2 separate regions of the Homo sapiens genome follow, and region 1 is linked to region 2. Evidence: promoter capture Hi-C in 16 types of primary human blood cells and fetal thymus (Javierre and others, 2016). All regions are on one chromosome and are shown on one strand. Each heading gives the region's core, a stretch centred on a gene start or on the middle of the fragment in contact. The rest is flanking DNA. Distances are from core to core; before and after follow the strand shown.

What was found. Contacts are between HindIII fragments. The CHiCAGO score rates a contact against its expected background, and 5 or more counts as called.
Region 1: a contact is called between a fragment that was not itself captured here and the fragment with the promoter of MTRF1 in region 2, in 1 of 17 cell types (M2 macrophages). The highest score is 5.5, in M2 macrophages.

The regions. Positions count from the first base shown.
Region 1 is chr13:42,181,921-42,184,749 of GRCh38, forward strand. The region is part of intron 13 of DGKH (diacylglycerol kinase eta); the gene reads left to right. It also overlaps the pseudogene CHCHD2P11. Among named protein-coding and RNA genes, the nearest start is that of AKAP11, 89 kb to the right of the region's middle. The HindIII fragment of the contact is 6,696 bases long and covers 1-2,829 here.
Region 2 is chr13:41,262,037-41,264,923 of GRCh38, forward strand. MTRF1 (mitochondrial translation release factor 1) reads right to left here and starts at 1,540. Exons shown (of 10, transcript NM_004294.4): 1 at 1,449-1,540. RefSeq lists an enhancer at 958-1,458 and a silencer at 1,746-1,835. The HindIII fragment of the contact is 4,724 bases long and covers 1-2,887 here.

The DNA of each region.
Region 1 (2,829 bases), core at 280-2,779, 920 kb after region 2:
GTGCTGGCAGCTGAGCTGCTGGTGCTGGCAGCTGAGCTGCTGGTGCTGGCAGCTGAGCTGCTGGTGCTGGCAGCTGAGCTGCTGGTGCTGGCAGCTGAGCTGCTGGTGCTGGCAGCTGAGCTGCTGGTGCTGGCAGCTGAGCTGCTGGTGCTGGCAGCTGAGCTGCTGGTGCTGGCAGCTGAGCTGCTGGTGCTGGCCGGGGTGCAGGTCTCATTGGAGGTGGCTGGCTGGCCAGAGGGGCCATGCTGGAGGTGCAGCTTTGACTTCCATGTGCCATCACAAATGGGCAGTGGCTCAGCATCTCTAAATTTTATTTTTATGGACATTTTCAAACAAAACTGATATAATTACTTCCCACTGTACCCATCATTCAGTTTCAGTATTTACCAACATTTTGCCATCTGCTTCCTACTTTATTTTGCTACAGTATCTCTAAGAACATCCTGAAAATTATTCTACTACACTTTTGGTATATAGTCCTCCCTCTCTATCCATGGGGGATTGGCTCCAGGACCCCCTTGGATACCAATATTCATAGGTACTCAAGTCCCTCATAGAAAATGCCATAGTATTTGCATATAACCTACACACATCCTTCCACATACTTTAATCATCTCTAGATTATTTATAATAACAAATGTATTTGCTATGTAAATAGTTGTTATACTGTATTGTTCAGGGAATGATGACAAAAAAAAGTCTGCACATATTCAGTGTAGACAAAACAATCTGTTTTCTTTTTCAAATGTTTTCAGACCATGGTTGGTTGACTCCATGGATGTGGAACCCATGAATATGGAGGGCTAACTGTATGTGTGTGTGTGTGCTTGTGTGCACGTGTGCATGTGCGCACATATAATCTTTTTAAAAATCTAAAAATTAATAATAATTCTCTAACACTATCAATATTACTTAAGCCATATCCCATTTCCCTTAGTTTTCTCAGAGGTTTTTCTGTGAACCTTGTCTGAATTTTGACAAGGTCTTTAAAAAAAAAAAAAACCACACACACTTTATTTGTTCAAAATTCAGACAATGCTCACACACTACATTTGAGTGATATCTCTTTAAGACTTTAAAAATCTTGACCAGGCATGGTGGTCCATGCCTATAATCTCAACACTTTGGGAGGCCAAGGTGGGAGGATTACTTGAGCCCAGGAGTTCAAGACCAGCCTGGGCAACATAGTGGAATCCCATCTCTACAAAAAGTTTTAAAATTAGCTGGGTGTGGTGGTATGTGCCTGTAGTCCTAGCTACTCAGGAGGCTGAGTTGAGAGGATCCTTTGAGCATGAGAGTTCGAGGCTGCAGTGAGCTGTGATCACGCCATTGCACTCCAATCTGGATGACAGAGTGAGATCCCGTCTTAAAAAAAAAAAACACTTAAAAATTCTATAATGGTTTCCCTTTAAAAAACAATTCTTACTGAGGCATGACATATACAGTAAAGCACCTAAATCACAAGAGCACAACTCAATGATTAAAAAAATACTGCATGTACGCACAGTCACACACAGACACACATACACACTTGTAATTACTACCTAGATAAAGAATTCCCTTTTTTTGTGAATGTTATTTATTTATTCAGTGATACAATATTAAGGCAAAATGTTTAAACCCTCTTGTGCCTGTTTGTATTTATTTCATGCAATAATAATTCCCAGTAGCCTTAACTGTTTTCAGCTATTTTTAAAATGTTGAAATGCTAATGGAAAAGTTGTATTCCACTAACATAGCTAACATGTAGGTTAACCTAAAACAACATTTCTTTGACCTTAGAACTTCATCAATTTGGTATGGTAATAAGAGTTATCTTCTGAGAATCACAGCTCTAACTAGCAATCATAGATACCATTTATTAGTAAAAATGTAAAACAGTTATTAAATAAGTTGTCTTTAGCTACAATGTATGTCTCTCCTTTTATTTAGTCAGTAGTTTAAAAACTTTTTTAGCTTTAACAGTAGGAGTTAATTAGGTTTTTTACTTACGCACTCTACTCACCCCCCAAGTTTTGAAATAAATGCATTTTGTTCTGTGTACAAAAGTTTCAGAAAATGGGATAACTAGCTAGCAGGAATATTGACGCCATTGTCATAGAACCATAGAATTTAGATTTGGAATCTACTTTAGGGATAATTTAGGCCAACCCGCCTCATTTAATTGGTAAAGTGAGGTAGTTGTTAAAAATATTTCCTCAGAGCACAAAGACAGCTAGAGACAAAGATAGCTAGAGATTTTTATGTATTATGCATTGATACTTCTAAATCATCTTCAGTTTCAAATTGGAACTTTTTATTAGATGAAAAATGAATTTTTCAGATATGATGACCCTGCCTGCCAATCTATGATTCTGTCTGGGTACCATTGCCATATTTATCTTAGTGTAGTATGTGCATATTTTACTGTCATTTGCCCACACTTTAAGAAATTAAGTGGAAAGGTGATAAATGAGGGTACTAATACTAGTGATGAGAAGTATGGGTCTAACATATGTAATATAGTAGAGATGATAGTGGAAATCATCAGGTATGTGAAATGTGGACTGTTGTTAGCCTCAACTGAGTATTTGGTTCACACAGTTGACTATGTTCAATTTTGAAGGAAGAGAACAAAATTAAGGAAATAAAATGTTGGAAATGCCAAAAGTTCTGTCTAGGCCTTATGCAGTGGCTCACCCCTGTAATCTCATTGCTTTGGGAGTGCAAGTCAGGAGGATCGCTTGAGGCCATGAGTTAGAGACCAGCTGGGGCGACACAGAGAGACTACATCTCTACCAAAAAAAATTTTTTTAAATTAGCTCAGCATGGTGACATGGACCTGTGGTC
Region 2 (2,887 bases), core at 290-2,789:
AAGAAACATACCAAAATGTGCCGAGCACAGTGGCTCACGCCTGTAATCCTACCACTTTGGGAGGCCGAGGCGGGCAGATCATCTGAGGTCAGGAGTTCGAGACCAGCCTGGCCAACATGGGAAAACCCCATCTCTACTAAAAATACCAAAAAAATTAGCTGAGCGTGATGGCACACACCTGTAGTCCTAGCTGCTCGGGAAGCTGAGGCAGGATAATCGCTTGAACCTGGGAGGCGAAGGTTGCAGTGAACTGAGATCGCACCACTGCAACCAGCGTGGGCGACAAAGCAACACGCTGTCTCAAAAAAAAAAAAAAAAAAAGAAACATACCAAAATGTTAATAAAATGATCTCTAGTTGTGAGATTATGAATACCTTTTGCTTGCTATTTTTTCTACTTTTCAGTGTTTTCCAAGTTTCTTGCACATGTAGCATGGAATACTTTCCTAATCATAAAAAAAGATTAGTTTAAAAAATTACAGGTTAGGTGAAATTGGCTGTGTACAATAATTTTCTGTTCTCCTCCCCTCCAACAGAGATAATCAAGAGCTAACAAAAGTACACAATGGTCTTACTGAGTAAGAAAGGGAGAATATAAAGTGTTCTAAGAAAACTCTAAGGTTCAAAGTTGAAATAAGGGTCAAGCCACGCACAGTAGCATGCACCTATTGTCCCAGCTACCCAGGAGACTGAGGCAGGAGGATCACTTGAGCCAAGGAGTTCAAGGCCAGCCTGGGCAACACAGTGAGACTCAACTCAAAAAAAGAAGGATCAACATTTATCAAAATCAAACTTTACTGTCTCCAGTGATCCTACTATGCTAGGAGGTGCATTGATATATTAGCTCATTTGTTCACTATAAGTCTGTTAACTTAGCATTATCACCTAGGAAATAAAATAGTCAGAATGGTCTTTAAAATATTCAGTTTCCAGAGTTCTACTGATAGATTTTAGGATACTGCATCACATTATTAAAAGAACTGTTGAAGAAAGCACCAATGGCCAGCTGTCACAAACGTTACACTCCACCACCCCCGTATTTCAAGCACGTTAGAGAAAGTGTATCCATTTGCTAACAGACAGAATAAAAGGATGACAAATATATGTTTGTACGAATACTTATTGCTAAAATTTCCATTTTAGGAACAGTAGTAGAATGCATAATTTTCAAGGTCATGAATCTCAACATTAAGGAAAACAAAACAAAACAAGATGTTTACTCTCCAAGGTTAACTACACCTGAGAACAGCACGACTTCTCCATTACCCATCACAGTAACAGTATTACTCTGATGCTTTGGGGAAAGTTCTGAGTGTAGGCAGGTCAGAAGCGACAGCCCGCGGGGCAGCAGCACGGGCAAACCATGCTGTGTAACTCAGTATATGGAGTGATTCCATAAAGAGGCAATACAGGAGGCGGCGGGGAAGATCAGGAAAGAACTGTGAGTACCTAAGAAAAAGAAGAATACACGTTAGCTCTCTTTACTGAGGTCGGAACCTTCCGAGACCCGCCACATTTCAGCCCGACAAACCCGAGATCACGTTCACTTCCTGGTTCACTTCTTCCGGGTTAACGCACGCTCCCGGCCCCTCCTCCGCCACTACCGCTCTCCGGAGGAGTTGTCCTCGAGCATGCCTAACAATGGACTAAAATGACAAAAATGAGCTAAATGAGAAAAATGACAAAACGAGAATGAAATTGTCATCAGACAACCGCCCCCGCGCCGTCCTTATCCAGAGCGTGAGCCCAGAGCGGGGATGGAGATGGTGGGAGGGAGGGAGGGAGGGAGGGGCCAAGGTGGGACTAAACTACAACTCCCAGAGCGCCCACCAAAGAATCCTGGGAGTTGTAGTTTACCTTGCGGCAGCCTCCAACCCCCTCCACTCACTATCCAGCCAAATGTGGAGTTTTTGGTTTTCACCGTTAACTGCAAACCTAGAAGAGAGATTCTTTACGATTCTGATTAAGAGATCAAGATTTAGAACACATTGCATGTGAAATTACAATAATTTCCTTATGTATTAGAAGCCCGTAAAGCACTGTTTTCCAATATTTAAAAAAAATAAAGACTCCTTTTACATCATCCACAAATGTAGAAGATTCTGCGTGTAATTTCTATACTTTCAGCTTCCATTGCTTCAGAAAATACCTAATGACTAAAGGATAATACAAATAAATTTATATTTTAAAAGTAGTAACAGCCCCAAAAGTTAGGAGACCGTGTATTTCCACATGTTAGTGATTTTATAATGTTCTTTGCACATGGGAATGTAGGGGCTCAACCTAGATTCATAGCTTATGAACCACTGATTAAGTGAAGAATGAAAACTCCAGTTAATAAACAATTGCAGGAAAATGCAAGCATATTGTCCTACTTTGACTAATCCAGTGGGATCCAGCCCTTGGCTATCGCAATTTACAGTCTTTCTATCTCCATGCCTCAATTTTTCTTCCTGAAAGAAAAGGCAAAAAATGTACCATATTACTGACTTTACAGAGTATTTTCTTAGATTATAATCACATACATAGATAGGAGAATTAGCTATATATGCAAAATAATATCTAACGTTTATAGCCAACTTCAAGGTACCTACTTCTATGTACTATGTACTAAATACTGTTCTAAATGGTTTTACCCTATTAATTCATTTAATTTTTACAACCTTAAAATACTTATTTTGCAGAGGAGAAAATTAAGGCACACAGAGCTAAAGTAACTACTCCAAGGTAAAAAACAGTAAGTGATAGAGCCAAGACTCAATTAAGGCAATGGCTTTAATGATCTGTGGCTCCTAAGCTCTGATATAGGGCCACCCTGCTCCAAAAAAGAAAAAACCTTCAATCATGTATTCAATAAATAGTGAACACCAGTTATGTGCTATTCACTA